2 separate regions of the Homo sapiens genome follow, and region 1 is linked to region 2. The links are contacts of gene promoters, found by promoter capture Hi-C in blood cells and fetal thymus (Javierre and others, 2016). All regions are on one chromosome and are shown on one strand. Each heading gives the region's core, a stretch centred on a gene start or on the middle of the fragment in contact. The rest is flanking DNA. Distances are from core to core; before and after follow the strand shown.

What was found. The method cuts DNA at HindIII sites, captures the fragments that hold promoters and counts their contacts. A CHiCAGO score of 5 or more calls a contact.
Region 1: a contact is called between a fragment that was not itself captured here and the fragment with the promoter of SRP68 in region 2, in 3 of 17 cell types (M0 macrophages, naive CD8 T cells and M1 macrophages). The highest score is 5.5, in M0 macrophages.

Annotation. Positions count from the first base shown.
Region 1 is chr17:76,422,373-76,428,352 of GRCh38, reverse strand. All of the region lies in intron 1 of UBE2O (ubiquitin conjugating enzyme E2 O), which reads left to right. Among named protein-coding and RNA genes, the nearest start is that of UBE2O, 28 kb to the left of the region's middle. RefSeq lists enhancers at 4,817-5,316, 5,317-5,818. The HindIII fragment of the contact is 1,070 bases long and covers 718-1,787 here.
Region 2 is chr17:76,070,888-76,076,559 of GRCh38, reverse strand. It overlaps SRP68 (signal recognition particle 68), which reads left to right and starts at 4,043. Exons shown (of 16, transcript NM_014230.4): 1 at 4,043-4,252. The coding sequence starts at 4,069. GALR2 (galanin receptor 2) reads right to left here and starts at 1,779. Exons shown (of 2, transcript NM_003857.4): 1 at 1,309-1,779. The coding sequence starts at 1,676. RefSeq lists enhancers at 833-1,714, 3,101-3,928, 3,881-3,930, 3,929-4,756. The HindIII fragment of the contact is 7,541 bases long and covers 1-4,717 here.

The DNA.
Region 1 (5,980 bases), core at 3-2,502, 350 kb before region 2:
TTAAGGACCATAATGTATCAGAGAAACAAGAATTATTTCAGAATGGACAGTCATAAGTTTCAAAAATGGTAAATGGAAAATGTCCTGTGGCACATTGTGTGATTCCAGAGCACTGGGCATAAAGCTTCCGAAGAGCAAAAACGGGTCACATACAAAAGACTGGGAATGAAGATGGATTGGATTTTTCAACCTCATTGGAAGCCAGAAGACAATGGGGTGGATTTCCTGTTTCAGTGACATGGTAGCTTGAGCTAAAGTTAGAACCGCTCCCATTACAATCACTTAAAATGCTATATAAGCTATAACAACAGAATAAGAAAGAAAAACAGAGAACCGAAAGCAAAGCAGGAATATAAAGCCAGAGCAGAGTAGGCAGCTCTGGGGAGGGGCAAGGTGGGTTCATTGGACCCTGAAATCGACCCTAACAATAATAGAGGTTTGGATTTGCATGAACACGTGAAGCATGGAGTTGAAACAGAAATCCCCTCAAAAGAGCCATTCCCAGGTAAAAGGGATGCAAGAAAATTTCCCCCATGGGATCAGAGAAATGTCAAGGGAGCTGATCATTGCCCCACACTCTGGATTGTGTTGGAGGAAGTCTTCTGTGAACAGTGGAAAACATCCAAGTTCTAAGTCTGTGTTTATAACATCTACATGTTGCAGGAATGCCCGAGCTGGCACCAGACCAGCCAGCAGACTGGCGATACCCCTGAAGCTTCTTGCTTGCAGAACAAAGGCAGAACTTTTCTAGAGTGACCCTTGCACAGTACAGGCCTTTTGGAATCCTAGGATGCCCACAGATGATGAGCTTGTTCTAGGAAATTACCAAGCATGTAGAAATTAGAACATGAGTCAGCGATCACAACAAACACAAGATTCTCAACATGAGAATTCAAATAATAGAAGAGATTATAATAGAAATGTCTAAAGTGATTGAAGGGCTAAAAGAAGAAATAGATGTCAAAGGAAAGAATAAGACAGAATACATCTTAAAAGGGATTATTTTTTAAAGAATCAAATAAAGCCTCTAGAGTGAAAACATTGAGTTAAAACCCCAGTGGAAATGTTAAACAGCAAATAGCATAAATTCTCAAGAGAGAACTATGGGAACTGGAAAACAGATCTGCAGAAGTTAGTTAGAATTCTGCAGAGATAAAAGAGATGCTTGTGAGGAAGAGACATTACAAACATGGATGGTGGTATGAGGGCCCAGTGGGAAAAATAGCATCCTAAAGGCAGCTTGAGAAGAAAGGCAGATTACTCCCCAGGTTCAACAGTGAAACTCAGGAAATGCCAAGTAGCAACAGTAGAGGCCATAAGGAAGTAAAATCTTCAGTGTGCTAAGGAAAATCAGTTGTTGGCTTAGTTTTCAGCAACCAGCTTAAATTATCGTTCAATAATGGGAACAAATAAGGACATTTTCACAGAAAAAAAAAAAAGTTGTATTTACTAAGAGACCTTCGCTGTACTTCGGGAAGAAGGAAGTAAGGAGAAAGGAGAAATGCGGACAGTAATGGTATCCAGAGGCGTTGGGAAGTGCAGGTAAATCTGAATAAGCATTCGCTTCTGAAAGTGATCGTCACTAATTTGGAGAGGATTAAAAACCAAAGTCCCAACAAAAAATGGAAATCAGTGAGGGGGTGATTTGAATGAACACACTCTTAAGTTCTTTGAACTGTTTGGGAAGTGTAGGAGGGATATTGATTGACTTCAAACTTTCTGAGTCAAGTAGACATGTTCCAATTTTAAGGGTAACCACCAAAAGAATAGAAATAGTGTTTAAAGCTTTCAAACTCACAGAGGGTAAAAATATGGAATTTTAAAACTAGGTCATTTGTCTAAAAGAAAGAGAGCAAAGAAAAAATATGGTAGCCAGAAAGCCCTAAAGGTAGTAGAAATAAATCCACATGGATCACAATGAAAGTAAACAATTATATGTGCCAGTTAAGACAGGTACTCAGACTGGAAGACAGCAGAGCAAATCCTGCAACATTCTGAGAGAATTCCGTATCCAGCCCAACTACGTCAAGTAGAGTAGAAAAAAGTTCTTTTGGCTGGGCATGGTGGTTCACGCCTGTAATCCCAGCACTTTGGGAAGCCAAGACAGGAGGATCGCTTGAGCCCCGTTCGAGACCAGCCTGGGAAACATGGCAAAACCCTGTCTCTACAAAAAAATACAAAAATTAGCCAAGTGTGGTGTTGTGCATCTGTAGTCCCAGCTACTCAGGAGGCTGAAGTAAGAGGATCATTTGAGCCCAGGAGGTTGAGGCTGCAGTGAACCATGATCACACCACTACACTCCAGCCTAGGTGACAGAGTGAGACCCTCCTTTTAGGCATGTAAGGGCTGGAAAAAAAGTGCCTCCTGTGAACCTCTTGTGGGGAGGAGATAGAAGGAGTTGTTCTTCACCAAAACCAGGGACTTTTCCCAGGATCCAGGAAACGGGATCTGACACAGGTGAGCGGCAGAGGAAAGTCTGAGTTAGAGAGACAGGATGGAATTCTGCAGGAGGGAGAGAGATCGACAAGAAAAAGACACAAAGCCCAAAGATACCTGATCGATAATTTGTAGGTAATTTGAAGATATTTAGAAAAGTTATGGATAGGTATTTGACAAAAGTATCAATATGTACATAGTTGTGTGAGGACACGGAACACCACTTGGTTCAGCTGTGAGCTCTGTCCTCCATCATAACACATTTAGATTTTTCAATTAATGCAGTGGAACTGTTGAAAGGATGGAGTACAGGCAAAGGGCTTCAGAGGGGAGGGTAAGAGTTAGGTCATCAGGTACCAAAACAGGACGTCAATAGATAATGTCTATAATAAGTTAGGAATTAGGGTGCAAGCATGTTGTTTATATGTATGGAGGTAAATATTCAAACAGCTAAAAAATTAAAAAGTATTTGCTTCAAAAGAGCACAGTTGAGAGGGTAAGATGGGGGACTGCCTGTTTTTGTTAAGCCTTTTAGTACTATGTTTTTTTTTTAACTTAGGCATGCATTGTTTTGATACAATTAAGCTAAACTATTATTTAAAAAAATACAATATGAGCCAAGTAGGTCCTTTAAAATTTTTTAGTGACCACATTTTTTTCTTTTACTTTTTTTTTTTTTTTTTTTTTTTTTGTCGAAAGGACCTTGAGAAGTGACCACATTTTAAAAACATTAAAAGAAACAGGTGAACCGGGTGCGGTGGCTCACGCCTGTAATCCCAGCACTTCAGGAGGCCCAGACGGGTGGATCACGAGGTCAGGAGATCGAGACCATCCTGGCTAACATGGTCAAATCCCGTCTCTACTAAAAATACAAAAAAGTTAGCTGGGCGTGGTGGCGGGTGCCTGTAGTCCCAGCTACTCGGGAGGCTGAGGCAGGAGAATGGCATGAACCTGGGAGGCGGAGCTTGCAGTGAGCTGAGATCGCGCCACTGCACTCCAGCCTGGGTGACAGGGTGAGGGCGAGACTCTGTCTCAAAAAAAAAAAATAAAAAATAAAAAAAAAAAAAGAAACAGGTGAAATTAATTTTGGAGGTAGAGGTGGATGGAGTCTTGCTCTGTTGCCCGGGCTGGAGTGCAGTGGCTCGATCATAGCTCATTGTAACCTCAAACACCTGGCTTAAGGGATCCTGCTGCCATTTTTTTATGTAGAGATAGGGTCTTACTCTGTTGCCCAGGCTGGTCTTGAACTCCTGGCCTCAAGCAATCCTCCCACCTTGGCTTCCCAAAGTGCTGGAATTACAGACATGAGCCACCTCACTCAGCCAGAAATTAATTTTAATGTTTTATTTAACTCAGTATATATCCAAGATACCATTTCAGAATGTAACGAATATAAAAAATACTAGTGGGCTGGGCACGGTGGTTCACGCCTGTAATCCCAGCACTTTGGGAGGCTGAGGTGGGCGAATCACGTGAGGTCAGGAGTTCGAGACCAGCCTGGCCAATATGGTGAAACCCTGTCTCTACAAAAATACAAAAAATTAGCAGAGTGTGGTGGCTCACACTTGTAATCCCAGCTACTGGGGAGGCTGAGACAGGAGAATCGCTTGAACCTGGGAGACAGAGGTTGCAGTGAGCCTAGGTTGTGCCATTGCACTCCAGGCTGGGCAACAAAAGTTAAATTCTGTCTCAAAAAAAAAAAAAAAAAAGGCCGGGCGCGGTGGCTCACGCCTGTAATCCCAGCACTTTGGGAGGCCGAGACGGACGGATCACAAGGTCAGGAGATCGAGACCATCCTGGCTAACATGGTGAAACCCCGTCTCTACTAAAAATACAAAAAAATTAGCTGGGCATGGTGGCGGGGGCCTGTAGTCCCAGCTACTCAGGAGGCTGAGGCAGGAGAACGGCGTGAACTTGGGAGGTGGAGCTTGCAGTGAGCCAAGATCGCGCCGCTGCACTAGCACTACAGCCTGGGTGACAGAGCGAGACTCCGTCTCAAAAAAAAAAAAAAAAAAAAAAAGAACCCAACCTGGAAGTAGCTGAGAGCCACCTGGTGTGAAGAGAGGAAGTCTCCTCTCCTGTGTTCTGGTTCCTTTGCGGACACTGTGCCGTAGGCCACCTCTATCAATTATGTCCTGGGCCTGAATCTTCAGGCTCTCCCTTGGCAGCTTCCTGCCTGACCTTATTTTTTATTTATTTATTTATTTATTTATTTATTTATTTTGAGATGGAGTGTCCCTCTGTCACCCAGGCTGGAGTGCAGTGTTGTGATCTCGGCTCACTGCAAGCTCCGCCTCCCAGGTTCAAGCGATTTTCCTGCCTCAGCCCCCCAAGTAGCTGGGACTATAGGTACGTGCCACCATGCCTGGCTAATTTTTTGTATTTTTAGTAGAGACTGGGTTTCACCATGTTAGCCAGGATGGTCTTGATCTTCTGACCTCATGATCCTCCCACCTCGGCCTCCCGAAGTGCTGGGATTACAGGCATGAGCCACCACGCCGGGCCCTCATTTTTATTTTTACTGTATTTATTTTTTAGAGATAGGGTCTTACTCTTGTCACCCAGGCTGGAGTGCATTGGCACAATCAGGGCTCACTGCAGCGTCGAATTCCTGGGCTTAAGCAATCCTCCCACCTCAGCCTCTTGAGTAGCTGGGGCTCCAGGTGCGTACCACCGTGCCCAGCTTGACCCCATTTTTAATGTCTTGAAAAGAGACCCTTCCTCAGCCCACATCCACCCCCTCACCTACCTCTTCCTCCTTTTCCTGCTCTTCAGCCGTAGTTCCTGAATGAGCTCCATGCTGTGATTCCTGTTTCCTGCATTGCCAGATGTTCTCCAGGCCCCGCCATTGGGGATTCTGCCCACGCCACCCATTGGGACTGCTGAGCCCAGGTCAGCAGGGACACTTCCCCGTGGCACTGGATCTCTCAGCAGCATCAGGCATTGCTAGCCACTCCTTTCTTGACACTTGTTCCCAATTCCCATGGCTTTTCCTTCAGCTGTCTCTAGTGACTCCTCAGAGGCACCCTTCTGTGTTCCAGGCACTTGCTGGGGTGCACTGGTGCCCAGTGCCTGCCCTTGTGTGGTTCACATTCTAACCCCCATGGGGCACACAGACTGCAGGTGTGGGAACAGTAAGTGCTGTGAAGAAAAATAAAGCAGGTGGATAGAGAATGAGGAGGAGCAATTCCAGACAGGGTGGCCAGAGAAGCCCTTCTGAGGAGGTGACATCTGAGCAGAAACTTGGGTGCAGCTATCTGGGGGAACATTTGAGCCATGGCTGTTCCCTGTGGTGGCCACACCTCCCCAAGCCTGGCGTGCCTCGGCTTCATTGCAGATGGAACCTCCGTCCTGCTCGGACACCTGCAGGACTGTCTCGTGTTCCAGATGTTTCATTGGCATCTGGCACAGCGTCTGCCCACCCAGTGGTTATTCAGTTTGCTGAATGGGCGAGGGAACAACTGAATGGATGGTCTACAGCATATGATGAACGGGAGGAAGAGGCCACTGGGTGCCCAGACCTTATGACAGAGCAGGTTGTGTC
Region 2 (5,672 bases), core at 2,794-5,293:
GTCCCAAGGCTGCTCTCGAGGAAGGTCCTTAGCGCATGGTTACACCGCACACAGAGGAGGTGGGGGTGAGGCTCGGCGTGAGGGCGGAGGTGGGGGCCTCCCAGCGTGTCCCAGACACTCAGCGGAGCCTGGAAATGGGGCGGGCCCGGCAGCAGGAAAGGTGTGCCTTCAAGCCATTCTCCCGCTGCCCCCGGGGACTGCAACCACAGTCTCCACTGAGAGGGCACCCCAAAGCCACTGAAGACTAAAGGTTGGAGAACCGGCTATGGGCTCCGGGAGGCTGTGACTACCCACTGGTGACGGTGCCGCGGGAGGGAGGGCGGAGGCGCCTGAGGCTCTAGCAGACAGCCTGGAGAAGACATGTTGGGCAAGGGACAGTTAATTTCTCAGGGGATTCCTGAGAGAATGCGAGCTTTGTGGATCCCACCAGCGCGCTCGGAACCAACGCACTTCGCGCTCAGTGGCTACAGGAGGTGTGGGGGCAGTCTGGCCTCGCCTCTCTGTTTTTCCAGAGGATGGAGAGGGGAAATACCCGGATTTCCTCCCCAGGAACCATCCCAGTGTCCTTTCAAGCTCCACCTGAGTCCCGCGCTCTCCCGAATGTGCGTCTCTCGCTCTCCTCTGGCTGGGGAGGAAGAACCCCAGGGCACGCTCCTCTCCCGGCCCCGACTTGTTTTGGATTTTATTTTGTTTTGTTTTGTTTGGAGGCGAGAGGCAGAGTGGGCTGGGACTGAGCTAGGGACCTTTAGGCACGCTCGCTGGGACTCCGGAGTGGATCCTTGCAAAGGACCCAAGATCCACAGCCTGGACCTGAGCCAGCTGCACCAACCAACCAAACCGTGGCTTGGAGGCGAGCGCAGTGGAGGCGCCTGAAGTTGGCTGCAGGAGACAGACGGTCACTTCACGCACCCGATCCCTGGCTGGCGACTCTGAGCGAGTTACTTAGGAACTCAACTCTTCTGTATATTGGGCACTTTGTCCTATCCCACCCTCACGGAGGGCATTAAGCTCAAGCGAGATGAACGCGCACAAACGCGTCGTACTGGGAAACGCTGCGCGTTGTCAGGCACGGGCGGCGCTGGAGAGCCACATTCTCCAGGCTTCCAGGCCCCAGGACGCATCTAACCGAGGGACACCACGGTCCCCCATTCTTATTCCTCTTTTTCCTCCTCCGCGCCCGCTTGTCTTCCACTGCCTTCTTAGTGTCCTGTCCCACTCTGCGCGTCCCTTCTTGGTCCCCAGTCCCGCCTCCCGCTCCATCCCCCGCGTGGATGCCCATCTCCCAGGGAGGCCAAGGCGCTGGCTCACCTGTCCAGGGAGACGGCGGCCAGCGTGAAGCTGCTGGCGTGCATGGTGAGGAAGATGAGGAAGTGCACCGCCTTGCACAGCAGCGAGCCGAACACCCAGCCGTCCAGGGTGTAGATGGTGGCCTGGAAGGGCACGCAGCACAGGATGAAACACAGGTCGGCCACGCCCAGGTTAAGGATGAACAGGTTGGTAGTGCTGACCGCCTGGCCGCCGCGCAGCAGCACCGCCAGCACCAGCGTGTTGCCCACGGTGCCCACGAGGAAGATGAGCGCGAAGAGCAGGGGCACGATGACCGCCTCGGGGTGCCAGCCTCCCCCGCCGCCCGCCTGGCTCGCGTTCCCGGCCCCTGGGCAGCCCGAGACGTTCATGGTGCCGCTGACCCCGAGGCTGCCCGGGCTCCTGCAGCCGTCTGGGTCTCCGCGAGCGGGAAGCTCCCGGGGCTGCGGCCGCTGCAACTCCTAGTGCGACTCTGCCGGGCTGAAGGCGGAGGGAGCCTTGCCTCATCTGGGGCGGGGATGGGGGTGCGCTGGGGTCAGGAGGAGGAGCAAGAGACAGGAGGGCGAGGTTGTCCCCAGCAGCGGCCGGCGGCGCTGGGGGAAGGGCTGCGGAGTGGTCCCGGCGCGCATTCCACGGCGCAGGCGGAGAGTGGCGCTTGTACCTGCTTCCGAGCTCCAGCCCCCGCAGTCGGGGGTTCTGGGCTGACCAGGCGGACTGACTTCCCCGGCAGACGCCGGAGCGGTGGAGGGGTCGACCCCGGACCCTGCGTGTGCGCCGCGCCGCAGGGAGCACGGACCTCGCACTCCGCGCGCCTCGGCGCTTCCCTGCAGCCTGGCAGGGGTGCAGGATATCCCGGGACCGTCGAGGGGCTGGGGTGCCCTCAAAAGAGGACCCCTGGGAGATCGGGGGGAGGAAACGCGGGGCGGAGGCGGATGAGGGGCCCCGGAGTCTGGCTCTTTCGCCCAGGCTAGAGTGCAGTGGCGCGATCTCGGCTCACTGCAACCTCCGTCTCCCGGGTTCAAACGGTTCTCCTGCCTCGGCCTTCTGAGGGGCTGGGACTACAGGCGTCCGCCACAACGTCTGGCTAGTTTTTTGTATTTGTATTTGTTGAGACAGAGTCTCACTCTGTCGCCCAGGCTGGAGTGTAGTGGCATGATATCGGCTCACTGCAACCTCCGCCTCCCGGGTTCAAGCGATCCTCCTGCCTCAGCCTCCCGAGTAGCTGGGATGACGGGCGCCTGCCACCACGCCTGGCTTATTTTCGTATTTTTAGTAGAAATGGGGTTTCACCATGTTGGCCAAGCTGGTCTCAAACTCCTGACCTCAAGTGATCCGCCCACCTCGGCCTCCCAAAGTGCTGGGATTACAGGCGTAAGCCACCGAGCCCGGCCACCTTTTTCCCTTCTCTTACCCATTGAACGTTTTCCCTCCAATTCAATCCAATATACTGAGCATCTATTGTGTCAGGCTCTGTCTTTGGCTCCATGCCTCAGTTTCCTCAGCTGTAACAAGGAAATGGTAACACTTCCTTCTAAGAGGGATCTGCTGAGAAAGGAATGAGATGTATGGGAGAGTTAGTTAAATCTGAATGCATCAGATCCTTATTCTTTTTCTCCTGACCTTATTCCGTATACCTTGAGGAAATTCAAAATAGAGTTCAGGGCCGGGCGCGGTGGTTCACGCCTGTAATCCCAGCACTTTGGGAGGCCGAGGCGGGCGGATCACGAGGTCAGGAGATCGAGACCATCCTGACCAACATGGTGAAACCCCGTCTCCACTAAAAATACAAAAATTAGCGGGACGTGGTGGCAGGCGCCTGTAATCCCAGCTACTCGGGAGGCTGAGGCAGGAGAATGGCTTGAACCCAGGAGGCAGAGGTTGCAGTGAGCCGAGATCACACCATTGCACTCCAGCCTGGGCAACAAGAGCGAAACTCTATCTAAAAAAAAAAAAAAAATCCGTCATTTAATCTTCCTAACAACCACTTAAATTGGTTATCCCCATTTCATAGATGAAGGAACAGATTTACAGGGAGATTAAGTTACGTGCCCAACATGTCCCTGCCGCTAATGACGGAGCGGGGATTGGAATCCCAGGTCTCAGACTCTAGAAGGTGCAAAGCAAAAATTCATATTTTCCCATGTCTCAACACTTCTCCCTCTTTGGACTGACGGCCCCAAAGTGCAGTGGTCCACGGCCCCAAGCGGTCTGAGAAAGTCACCCCGTTAGGACACCGTCTGCTGACTGCGCAGCGCTTCCTCCGGCTTGGCGTTCTTACGGCCAGCCTCAGAGGAAAGGGCAGGCAGAGGCGGGTCCCTTACGGACGGGGTGTCCCGTTCCGGTAGGGAGGACCCCATCTCTTGAGTCCCTGGGGATGCAGACACCCCGAAATCCAGTATCTTTGGTCTCCTGCTTTCTGCTGGGCAGGACGTGAACCAGATCCCCAGTCCAGGATGCAGGACCTGGGGTCCACCTCCGGTTCTCCGCCCTTAGTGGGTGGGAGGTGGGACTGCCCCCTGAGATCTCAGCAGCCACGGTCTCACTGCGGCCTCAAGTCCCCACCTAGCCAGCCACAATTCCGGACCCGGGATGACAGGATCCCTCGCGCAGGCGCGCTCCAGCACATGGCGCCCTGCTGCAGCAAGGGCCGACGGCGGCGGAGTCCGCCGCTATCCCATCAGCCCGGCCAGGCAGGTCCAGCTCTCACCCGCCCAGGTCGTCCCGCCTCCCCTATCCCGTCTTGCTCTGCGGCGCAGGGGCAAGATGGCTGCTGAGAAGCAGGTCCCAGGCGGCGGCGGCGGCGGCGGCAGTGGCGGCGGCGGTGGCAGTGGCGGCGGCGGTAGCGGCGGTGGACGTGGTGCCGGAGGGGAAGAAAATAAAGAAAACGAACGCCCTTCGGCCGGATCGAAGGCAAACAAAGAATTTGGGGATAGCCTGAGTTTGGAGAGTATCCTAGAGTAATCGGGCCTAACTCGCAATGATTACGTGTCGAACTGGAGGGCTGGGGGCGGGAGAGGCGGCGGGTCCCGACAAGTCCTGGCAGGAGAGGCCGAGGGTTGCAGTTTCTCTCGCCCTTACCTTTTGGTGCTCAGAATTCCGGGGGGGGTCTGTCTCTCGACTAGTCTTTCCTCGTGTCCCCCTCGCCGTCCTGGCTAGGTCCGTTTCTTCCAGTGGCACTGGGATATCAGGCAGGTTTCCCCTGGTGCCCCGCAGTTGTCCAGTTGGAGGGCTTGTGACCAAGTGACACCTTGAGCACCTTGCTTTGGCACCTTGAGCCACTGAACTGGGGAGAGGAAACTGCAGTCTTGACATTTGGCTTAATACTCTTGTCTGACAGTCGTCATAGACTGAGTAGTAAAACCTACAGCTCGATACTTTGAAAGTGGAGGTAAAGATTGACTCAGGAAAAGCTTGTTGCCCATTTTGATTGTAAGTTACCGTAGTTAATATCGATTGTGTCATTTTTTTCTGATCGGTCTGTAGGCATTTTATCTTGCTGACAGTCATTCATATAAGCTGGAGGAATCGGTTTCTAGTTTCCATCAGTGTGTATCTCAACCAAGTGCTTGTGGTACTAGTTTGTGACCTTTTGAAATGAATAACAAATGGAGAAAACGTAGGCGAGTTTCTGAAATAACACATTCAACTTGACATCTTAATGTGCTTAAAGTTCTCAGGCGCTTGGAGTTAAATATTTTGAATTACTGGTAATAGTTCCAAGTAGACGCTAGCGAGCCCTGATTTTACTGAGACCTTTATATCTCTTTGTCCCGTTTTAGTAATTTAAAGAGTCCTTTTAGCGTTCACTATTTTAAAATATGTCTCTAGAGAAGTGTTGAGGAAACATTAAAACTATACCTATATAGATGAAGGTCATTGGACTTTCTAAAGATTAGTACATAATCTTAAATATTTTAAGATTATTAAAAGGAGAATCTGGCCATTCTTCTTTTGAAAGAAAAACCTTAATACTTTTATGCAAACTGTAGCCTAGCTTGGTTGACATGTGCTAATCATAGACTCTCTAAGCATCACAGCTGTTAAGGAAAGTTAGATTTGGCAGGTGTTGGAGATTATGCAAATGGAGGCTTAGTACATGTCATTTATAACCTGAATCTGAATGAATAAAATGTGGGGTCTAGGTGTTAATTGGTGTGAAGCACCCCAATTATAGTCAGCATTTAGAATCCATCAGCTTAATTTAAACTGGGTTTTGGCAGTTTCCAGTGGCCAGTAGTGCCCTCCTTTTTCAGTTTGCAAGTAGTAACAGTTCAGGCAATCAGTTTTCCTGTAGGTTAGCCCTGTCCTGTGACAAGATAGATATTGAAAATGGTTACAAAAGATCTCACCAGTGTACTAAATATTTC